3 separate regions of the Homo sapiens genome follow, and regions 2 and 3 are each linked to region 1. Evidence: promoter capture Hi-C in 16 types of primary human blood cells and fetal thymus (Javierre and others, 2016). All regions are on one chromosome and are shown on one strand. The core of a region is centred on a gene start or on the middle of the fragment in contact, and the rest is flanking DNA. Distances in the headings are between cores, read along the strand shown. Region 1 holds the start of SLC25A33 (solute carrier family 25 member 33). Region 2 overlaps H6PD (hexose-6-phosphate dehydrogenase/glucose 1-dehydrogenase). Region 3 overlaps H6PD (hexose-6-phosphate dehydrogenase/glucose 1-dehydrogenase).

Evidence for each region. Contacts are between HindIII fragments. The CHiCAGO score rates a contact against its expected background, and 5 or more counts as called.
Region 2: a fragment that was not itself captured here is called in contact with the fragment with the promoter of SLC25A33 in region 1 in 3 of 17 cell types (endothelial precursors, fetal thymus and megakaryocytes); the score reaches 6.9 in endothelial precursors.
Region 3: a fragment that was not itself captured here is called in contact with the fragment with the promoter of SLC25A33 in region 1 in 2 of 17 cell types (fetal thymus and erythroblasts); the score reaches 7.1 in fetal thymus.

What each region holds. Positions count from the first base shown.
Region 1 is chr1:9,537,887-9,541,373 of GRCh38, reverse strand. It overlaps SLC25A33 (solute carrier family 25 member 33), which reads right to left and starts at 1,909. Exons shown (of 7, transcript NM_032315.3): 1 at 1,627-1,909. The coding sequence starts at 1,682. RefSeq lists enhancers at 1-28, 1,054-1,183, 1,850-2,144 and silencers at 1,254-1,613, 1,634-2,153. The HindIII fragment of the contact is 15,144 bases long and covers 1-2,957 here.
Region 2 is chr1:9,252,724-9,256,210 of GRCh38, reverse strand. The region is part of intron 3 of H6PD (hexose-6-phosphate dehydrogenase/glucose 1-dehydrogenase); the gene reads right to left. Among named protein-coding and RNA genes, the nearest start is that of H6PD, 20 kb to the right of the region's middle. RefSeq lists an enhancer at 3,185-3,487. The HindIII fragment of the contact is 1,725 bases long and covers 1,050-2,774 here.
Region 3 is chr1:9,271,045-9,274,531 of GRCh38, reverse strand. It overlaps H6PD (hexose-6-phosphate dehydrogenase/glucose 1-dehydrogenase), which reads right to left. Exons shown (of 5, transcript NM_004285.4): 5 at 3,195-3,487. Among named protein-coding and RNA genes, the nearest start is that of SPSB1, 20 kb to the left of the region's middle. The HindIII fragment of the contact is 8,208 bases long and covers 1-3,487 here.

The DNA of each region.
Region 1 (3,487 bases), core at 660-3,159:
ATCGAGACCATCCTGGCTAACACGGTGAAACCCCGTCTCTACTAAAAATACAAAAAGCTGGGCGTAGTGGCGGGTGCCTGTAGTCCCAGCTACTCGGGAGGCTGAGACAGGAGAATGGCGTGAACCCGGGAGGCGGAGCTTGCAGTGAGCTGAGATGGCGCCAGTGCACTCCAGCCTGGGCTACAGAGCGAAACTCCGTCTCAAAAAAAAAAAAAGAAAAAAAAAATTAGCCAGGCTTGGTGGCGGGGCCTGTAATCCCAGCTACTCGGGAGGCTGAGGCAGGAGAATCGCCTGAATCCGGGAGGCGGAAGTTGCAGTGAGCCCAAAGATCGCACCACTGCACTCCAGCCTGGGCGACAGAGGAAGACTCCCTCTCAAAAAAAAAAAGGAAGTCTCAATGGAGACATGGAGGGAAGGGTTGCAAGGGAATGAATGACAGGGAAGAGATGAATGAGAAACTCTTCCAATCTATGAAGACCCACCGAAGTTTTTGGTTAAAGTAACCTGGTGACTGCCCACAATACAAGTACAAAAAAAGCTCAGGGACGCTTTCATCAGTCATCTTCCAAGATAAGTTTCTCAACCATTGTTTGTTGTAAGGAACATATCCAGGTAGGAATCCAGGCTGCAACTACTCAAGCCAAGATGATCATCCCAGAATAAACTATTTTATGCAAAATATCCTACACTCAAAAATTCCTGTGCCAGGCCGATGAGGTCCTCAAATTAATACTCCAAATATCTGTAAGACTCCGAAAGGACCCCAAGCCACCGGCTGTGATAAAGGAAAAAAGAAAATTACTAATACTCAAAAATATTTTACCTTCTATTCTCGGCGGGAGGTGACAAGGGGAGGTGGCGAGGGGTACCATCTCCCTTCCTAACCGCAGAACTCAACCTCCTAAAAATGCATTGTCTCCGCTGGAAAAAAGGTGCCTGACCATAGACCTAATGCAGCTTTCAAAACAAGGAACACCTTACAATTCTGCGGTCTCTGGCGTTGGAAGCGTCTACCAGCCGGCGAGAAGTGTCTCAACACACCTTCCAGACCTCATATGAGTTCGGGTCCCTGGCTTAGCCACCCCGCGTGTGGCCGCAAGCATCACCGTTCACCAGCACCACCCAGGCCTTGCTGACGTCCAACGTCCGCAGACCTTTTTGCCCGTCCGGATGACCTCCCGCGCTGCCCTGAGGAACCTCGGGCACACCCGAGCATCAGCGATCCTACCACGGGCTCTGAGGCGCTGCGCTTCGGGAGAGGCCCCAGGAGAAGGGGGCGGGGGAGGGGGGGCCGCGCCACAGCGTCCAGGCTGGACCGCCGCCGAGCACCACTCACCGGCCACTGACTCTTCAGAATGGGGAAAAGCTGGGGACGCCGCGGGGAGGACGGGCGGCGGGGCACAGCCGCCCTCGGGGCTGCGGTCAGGACGTAGGGGTGAGGAAGGCCCGACCCCCTCCCTCGGCCCTGCCCACCAGTCCCCGACGCCGGGACTTCCTCCTCCCGAGCGCCGGCGCCGTAGCCCGGGGAAGGCCGGTAACCGCCGCGGGAGGCTGGGGCCGCGCCCGGGGCGAAGGCCGAGGGGACCGCAGGCGGTGGGGCGCGCGCGGCTGGGCCCGGGAACTCACCCGCCGGCGAAGAGGTGAAGCAGCGTGTTCTCCTTCTGCTGGCCGCCCGTCGCCATGGCCGCGCCGGCTCCGCGGCCCGTCGCCGCCCGGTGGCGAGAGCGCGTGGCGGCTCGAGGGATGCGCGAGGTCGCCGGGTCTTGTCTCCCCGCTGCCCTCAGGGGGCTGCCGGCAACGCCTCCATGCGCGCGCGGGCTCCAACGCCCGGCTCTGCTCGGCCCGCGCCTTCCGCGGCGTGGCCGCCGGCGCCTCACCGGCCTCTGCGGCGCGAGCCCGGCGGGGAGCTAGAGCCCGGCGCGCGGCCGTCACGTGGCGGGGGCCGGACCGTGACGTCACGGGCGCGCGAGTCTGGGGCGGGGCGTGACGGGGGTGTGGACCCAAATTTCGAGCGCTCATTGGTTAGGACGCGGATGTGGGCGGGGAGGTTGCGCAGTTCTGGGGCGGAGCCAGCCCCGAGCGAATGACTGGGGAGAGGGGCTGGCCTAGGCCGGAGCGTGGAGGCAGTGGAAACTGGCTGTGACTGACTGGTCCTCGCTCCTCAGAGAAGCCTCGCGAGGCCCTAGGCCTTGCCTTATTTTAAAAGTTTACTTTGTGATATTTACGTGTGCAAAAGGTGTACAAATTACGTGTTACATCTCACACCTCTGTACTCACCACCCCGTTTAGGGAAACAAAAACATAATCTAAAAATCTATAATCTAAACAGCCTTAGATAATCAGTGAGGCCCTCACGGTGGCTCACGCCTGCAATCTCAACACTTTGGGAGGCCGAGGCGGGCGGGCGGATCGCCTGAAGCCAGGAGTTACAGACCAACCTGTCCAAGACGGCGAAACCGTGTCTCTACTAGAAATACAAAAGTTAGCCGGACGAGGCGGCGCACCCCTGTCATCCCAGCTACTTGGGTGGCTGAGGCTGGATAATCGCTTGAGCCCGGGAGGCGGGGGCTGCAGTGAGCCAAGATCTTGCCACTGCACTCCAGCCTGGACGACAAAGCGAGACTCTGTCTCAAATAATTAATAATCATTATCATTATGTGGATTTTTGATCTCCCTATAAGTAGTAGTATATGCTGCGTATATTTTGCAGTATGCTTTTTGCTTCTTTTCTGATCATCTCCAGCCCAGACCTAGATATCCAAACTGCTTCTCTCAGCCTATGTCACTGGGTCATTGTCATACTCAACCTGACATCTTCTAATCTCCAGGTCTCCCCCAGATGGAGACTTTCCTGGCCGCCTTTGCAGCGCAGTCTGTCACACGACTATAGAACCAGGGCTTCTGCAGTTAGTTTGTTGATTTATTTAAGTTGTCCTTCCCATACAGGAATGTAAGCTTCAGGAGAGCAGGGACCTTATTTCTTTTGTTCACAGTTGTTCCTGACACAGTACCTGCCACCTAGTAATGCCCAAGGAGCTAATGAATAAAGGTCCCAAATTGAACTTATCATTCTTCCCCTCCCCCAAACCTGCTCTACCTCTATTTCCTGTCCTGGCAGTGACACCACTGACTGCACAGGCACCAGTGCCAGAAGCTTTCCTGTTACCTTGGACTATGTCTCTCTGTCTGTCTCTCTCTCAGCAGACCACCATTCACCTGCAGAACGTACCAACCCTTTCTCTTCCGTCTCTCAGAGCTCCGGAAAGCTGTACCTTGACCAGAACAAGCAGTTAGATGTCCTGTGTGTAAACATAGAGAGCTTAAGTAGGAGGGAATTGTGTGGAAACGTGGGAGCTAGCCAGCCAATCTGTATTTGATTGCTGGGACTCTTTAAATAAAAACAGCTCTTAGGAGCAGTCCTCCAAAATGCAAATACAGTGGTTACTATTAAAGCCATTGCTCCCAGGCCTAGGAGAAGGGGAAGCCA
Region 2 (3,487 bases), core at 663-3,162, 290 kb after region 1:
TATTGTTGAGAAGACATCCAGAAAAAGAGAAACTGATGCCAGCAATGTTTGTGGATCAGTCCATTTATCCTCAGAATAACAACATATAAGGAGGCCCCTCTATTTCCCCTATTTTAAAATATAAGGAACCTGAAGTTCAGAGAGGTTGGATAACTTACCCAAGGTCACACACAGCTGGTAAAGAGGTAAAAATAGCTTCAAACCCAGGCAGTTCGACCCAGAGCCTGCAATTCTTACCACCAAAACATTTCCCTTTTAATTACCCACTCTTCAACCCTACAACAGAACGGTGTGAAGTTGAGTGGCGTGGGCACCACTGGCCTTTAGAAACAGAGCACAATGAAGAAGCCGGCTGAGCTTCTGGAAGGAGGGGTCTAGGGCAAAGCTCAGAGATTCCAATGCCTACCGGGGCCAGCAAAAGCGAAAAGGATGGAGTAAGGCTGGTGTCCCTCAGAGGTACAGTTAAGTACCTCAGGTGCATTCAGGTGGTGCCTCACAGGAGTGTGGGCCCAGGGTGACCAAATCTTCCAATTCTCCTTTTCGGGAGAATGTAAAAAGACAATTCTTCCCTTCCCCTGCAATAATAGAACAGGAAAATCAGGAATATCTTGCATTTGAAAGGGACCTAAGGCCTGGCACAGTGGCTTATGCTTGTAATCCCAGCACTTTGGGAGGCTGAGGTGGGCAGATCTCCTGAGTCCAGGAGTTCAAGACCAGCCTAGGCAACATGGCAAAACCCCATCTCTACAAAAAATACAAAAATTAGCTGGGCATGGTGAAATACACCTGTGGTCCCAGCTACTTGGGAGGCTGAGGTGGGAGGATCACTTAAGCCTAGGAGGTCGAGGCTGCAGTGGGCTATGATTGCACCACTGCACTCCAGCCAGGGCGACAGATAAAGACCCTGTCTCCAAAAATAAAAAATAAAAAATAAATAAATAAATAAGAGTTATTGGCCTCAAACAGTTAAACAGAGTCATGATCCTCCAGCAACCCCACTCCTGGGTTTATACTCAAGAGAAATAAAAATGCAGGTCCACACAAAAGCTTGTACATGAATGCTCATTGCAGCATTATATATAACAGCCAAAAAGTAGAGGCAACCCAAATGTCCACTAACTGGTGACTGGATAAATTATGGTATATCTATACAATAAGATATTATTCAGCAGTAAAAAGAAATGAAGTGCTGGTACATGCTAGAACATGGGTGAACTCTGAACTCAGGATGCTAACTGATGGAAACCACACACCGTATGATCCTATATGTACAAAATATCCAGAACAGGCAACCCCGCAGAGAGAATGCATTTCTGTGGTTGCCAGGAGCTGGGGAGAGGGGGAAATTGTGGGATGACAACGAAGGGGTACAGGGCTTCCTTTGCCGTGATGAACATGTCCTAAAATTGATTGTGGTACTGACACACAACTCTGTGAATACACGAAAGCTCACTGGCCTGTCCACCTTAACTGGGTAAAGTGTAGTAGGATTTGTGAGTTACAGCTCAATAAAACTTTTTAAAAAAGGTTTTAGAACAGGGAAGCAGAAGCACGAAAGAGGTACTTCAGGAAGATGAAGCTGTCTGCGACCTCCAAGATGAACAGGATGGGACTGGTGGTAGTGAAATCAGTGAGGCAGCCTTTGCTGCCATCAAAGGAAGTAACAAAGGTAGGAGGGAACGAAGTCACAGTGAACTGCAAAGAAGTTATTATAGCAGATGAATACAAACTACTTGGTGACTGGCTGGATCCTTGAATGGTGGTACAGAGCTGTGATCTGGAGTGTGGTCTCTGGAGCCAGGCTGCTCCAGTTTATTTTATCTTATTTTATCTTATCTTATTTTGTTTTATTTTATTGGAGATGGAGTCTCCCCATTACCCAGGCTGCAGTGCAGTGGCGCGATCTTGGCTCACTGTAACCTTCGCCTCCTGGGTTCAAGCAATTCTCCTGCCTCAGCCTCCCGAGTAGCTGGGATTACAGGCACAAACTACCATGCCTGGATAATTTTTGTATTTTTAGTGGAGATGGGGTTTCACCATTTGACCAGGCTGGTCTTGAACGCCTGACCTCAAGTGATCCACCCGTCTCGGCCTCCCAAAGTGCTGGGATTACAGGTATAAGCCCCCGTGCCCAGCCTGCCCCGGTTTAAATACCGGCTCTGCCATCTTTCAGCCCTGTGATCTCCAGCAACTGACATCACCTCACATACGAACAAGCAACAATCCCCGCACCTCCCTTACAGGGCTTCTGTGGGCCTGAAGGAGTTAATATCCACACAGGGCTTGGAACAGTGGCTAGCACACAGGAAACACTGATAAAGACTGGTTGGAATTTTTCTTATGACAGATGCTGTAAGAGAAGGGCTACCAGCCTGGTCACTCAGAGAGCACTGTTCCCATTTGAAATAAAGAGGTTAGAAAACACAGTTGGTATTTCATGAGAAAAATGCAGTGATGGTTTTCATTCTAAATCTGCTGAATCTGAAGGGATGGTGCAACACCCCATGAAATGATCTAAAAGGCGGCTGGAGGTATAAACTAGGGCCTGGGGAGACAACGCACACTGGAGATAAACTGGATTTCATCAAACCTGAAATGCCATCAGTGGCGGAAGCATCGCTGTTTTATAACCCCTAAGAAAGAAAAGGGTTTCCAGTTCCACTATGTCACCCTATTAAGGATAAACCCAACTTCAGAGACGTCCAAATATGAAAAAAATGTCTTCCAATCAATGAATTACAGTGGATTTATATGTCAACAGCATACTTAAAGCTTTAAAAACAGATGAATTTTTGATGAAGGGAACACAACAGAGTCCCTAAAAGCCCTGTTATCTGCTTACTATTCATTAATGTAGCGAATCCCTAAGCGGCCCCTTTCCTATTTTTATCCTCTCTCAATTCTCAAAAAGAATGCATTCCACGGGTTTACTACCTGCTGGGTAAAAGAGAGCTTCCTTTATTCCTTAATTTCAAGCTTCAGGGGGTGCGCCTGTGTTTAACACGGCCTGTAGATTTATGGACTTTGCCTGGTTGGCTCCGTCTTTTCAGAGTTTAATGCAGTGACTGGGACTGTGGCCTGGCACCTCCCTGGGAAGAGGCCATGCAGCTGAGTGCAAGGACAGGAGGCGAGGGGCTGGCCCTCCTGCTGATGTTGATCTTTTCTAGTTACTGCCCGTTATTGTGGACTGATTTCTCCTAAAAATGATCTATATTGGCTCCTAGTGTATTTTCCCGGGTTGAAAGTTGAGGGTTGAAACCCATCAGTATATGAAAAGGATAGAGAAAAGCACAACCAGGGTGGACACTGGGAGGAAAGACCCCCTGTAAACTTGGCTCCCACCTGTGCACATCCAGAGCTCGTCCAAGGTCAGAGGATGACAAAGCAGGGGGGCCATGGCTGTGCCCGCCAGCTGTGCTGCTCAGACTCATAACAGAGAGTAACAGCTAGAAAGCACTTCTCCCCTTTGGCCCCGTCATTCTACTGC
Region 3 (3,487 bases), core at 468-2,967, 270 kb after region 1:
AGAGTCTCGCTCTGTCCCCCCAGGTTGGAGTGCAGTGGCGTGATTAGAGCTCATTGCAACCCCCACCTCCTGGGTTCAAGCGATTCTCCTGCCTCAGCCTCCCCAGCAGCTGGGATTACAGGCACCTGCCACCACGCCCAGCTAATTTTTGTATTTTTAGTAGAGACGAGGTTTCGCCATGTTGGTCAGGCTAATCTCGAACTCCTGACCTCAGATAATCTGCCCGCCCCGGTCTCCCAAAGTGCTGGGATTACAGGCGGGAGCCACCGCACCTGGCTTTTCATACACTTCTAATGTTAAAGAGACCTTTTGGGAAATGATATTGATTGTGTGACAAAATATATTTCTGAATGGAATGAAATTCCTTCAGTTTCTAGTAAAATTATTAATGCACTATTATTTATTAAGTATTAAGATTAAAATTAGCATCAAGAGGAGGATCCCATTTTTACGAAATATTTTGAATCTTCTATTTGCATCCGTGTCTTGAAGGATGTGCACCCGTTGTTACTGTTGTTCGTTTCTGGAGGGCTGGACGACAGTGATTTTCTTTACACACATTTGTGTACTTTTCTGCACTGTTTCAATGCATTTGTAACAAGCATGTGTGATTTTTACAAAAATATGTGTGTCCAGGTTTTTGCCATCAAAAAATATATATATTTTTTTCTTTTAAAAAAGCAAATATAAAAAGGCCTCATACAGTGAATGCTGAAGGGGGCAATCTCCATGGATTAATATTCTCATCCGAGTGCTTACTGTATTTTATTTTTTTCAGTAAAAAAATAAAGACATACGGAGTAGGAGGAGGGCCTGACTGATAGCATGAGCTTAGTTTGATAATTTTTCCTCCCAACGATGCTTCTTCAGACAAACAGAACTCATGAGGCTGGGTTTCCGCAGCCAGTGAGTGGGGACGGGGGAAAGGAAAGGGCTGTAGTGAGACCTCTCCAGGGGGACAGAGCAGCCCTAAGCTGTTGGGGGCCCCCCTGGCTGCCATCCCTGCTGCAGCGTCCAGCAGTGGGCGCTGACCGTGGCTTTGCTCTCCATCAGCAGCCAGTGGGAGCTGTCAGGAGCGGGGGTCAGACCTTGCCCTGCTTCTGCGTGGCCCTATCCCACGGTGCCAACAAGCGTGGTGGCCTGCCATGGCTGGACCACATCCATTGCACCCCTAGGCCCTGGCCACTCTGGGCACAGGAGACCCATGTGCTTAGACCCTCCCTCCCCTAGAGAGGATGACACGTGCCAGGCTCACCGCTGGCCCCACACCCGCTCAGGCCTCCACCCCTCCAGCCGCCTTGCTGACCACTCTCTTTCCTTATTGCCATTCACTCATTCATTCACTCACACATTCACTGCAGGGCGGCGTGTAAAGTGCCAGAAACACGAAAAGGAGCAGAATGTATGGAGTCTCTGCCTTCGTGGTCCTCAGCCCGACAGGTGAGTGGGAAGATGGGGGTAAGAGAGGGCATGGGTGGAGCCGCATCCCCTCCCCTTCTGCTGGGAGCTGGGTGGCGAGGGGCAGCTGGCTGACCCCACCCGGGCTCTGGCTGTCTGTAAAGAGCTTGTAAGAGACCCTGGAGAAGGTGGACTCAGGCTGGCAGCTCCTGAGCTTGTCTTCACCACGGCTTCTTTTATGATTTGCGCAACTCTTCCCCTCCTGCCCTTCCATCTGTCCCTGCATCTCCAAAACTATGGTCTATCAGGAAAACAGTTCCAATTAAGCAAGAAGAAACTGATGCTGCACAGCAGGGGCCACCCAACTGGTGTTGCCACACTGGACTGCTGAAACCCTGACCCCAAACAGAAGGATCTGTCCTCTTGGTTCATGAGAATCACCTTCTTACTTAGGTCAGTGTGGGGTTTCTGCTGGGCTTCCGGAAATACATAACAAAGCTACTAGCTCCAGTATCTATTAAGTTCTGCTGCTACAAGGTAGTTTAGGCACCCAGAAACGAGGCCCGCAGGCTGACTTCAGGAGACTGGAATCAGGTCCCAGAGACAGCCCCCGAAGTGGGATCCTGGGGCTCTCCTCTCCTCCATGCCAGCCTTGTCCTTAGGCCTCCGTGGCGCTGAGATGGCTGCTGCAGCTCACCAAGGCCTGAGTCCAGAGAAATGGTGCCGCTTCAGCCTGAGTCCTCGGGGTCACTCTGATTTGACCAGTTTGGGCCCTGAGCCCTCCCAGATCCCATTGCTGCGGCTGTGGGCATTGGATGTCCTGATCGGCTAGCACTGGGTCACACGCCCCATGCCTGCCATCGGAACTCCCCAGAACACATGTATGGGAGGGTCCCCAAACGGGGGCTGGACACCAGGTGACCCTCCAGTGCAGCCCTCACAGACGCTGGCTGGGTCCCACAGTCCTGCCCCGCCATGTTTCTGTGAGGACTGTGGAACCAGCAGCCATCACCACAGAGAAGCAGGGAGGGGACGCCCTGGGCTACCCCCCGGGAAGCAGCAGATCCCCCGCGCGCCTCCCATCTGAGGGACAGGCAGGGACGGTCACTGCAGCTCTGGTTTCTGGCCTTCGTGACATCTTCCCTTGCAGGCTCTGGGCATGTCTCACCCGTCTCTGTCCCCTCTGCCATGGGGTCCCTGCCCAGAGCTCACCTATTTCGAATGTGTGCGCTGCTCCTTTTGCCACCTTGTGATGTCACCAAGCCTGTGTGGGTCCTGCATGCTGTTGGTGACAACCTGCAAATCTCTAACTTCTGTACCTCAAGTGGTCCTGAAATCCTATTTGACTTCCCCAAAACACTTACATTCCTGGGAGTGTGACACAGCTTGGAGGTAGGACTCAGGCAAGGGACAGGAGAGAAGACAAATGAAGGCATCAGGCTCTGGTGTCCTCAAAGACCCTCCCCTCCCGATCTCCCACTCAGGGGTGAGCTCCTTCCCCTCCAGTGGGCTGCCGGGAAGGTTGGGGGACTCTTCCTAGACTGCTTGGGAGTCTATGAAATGAGATCATCCTGCCCACTGCTCTCTCTCCCATGAGGCCCACAGACCCTCTTGCAAACGGAATGCACTGGCTTGCTCAGTCAGACACACTTACACTCGCAACAGGCACGCGGCTGTCCTCGGTTCAGGGCCCTCACTCACGGCAGCCCTCCCCTCCTCCAAGAACACACACAGCATGACGCTGGGGCCCACAAACCCCTACACCTCATGCCCCAAATAAAGAATTAAAGCCCGGATTTTGGCAAATCAATTTTATTGTTTAAAAAAATAAACGTTACATTTGACATAGAAAAAGACATTTTAAAAATGTTCTTAAAAGGTTTAAAAAGGCATTTGTTCTGGCCAGGCATGGTGGCTCCCGCCTGTAATCCCAGCACTTTGGGAGGCCAAGGCGGATGGATCACCTGAGGTCAGGAGTTCGAGACCAGCCTGGCCAACATGGTGAAACTCCGTCTCTACTAAAAACACAAAAATTTGCTGGGCATGGTGGTGTAATCCCAGCTACTCGGGAGGCTGAGGTAGGAGAATC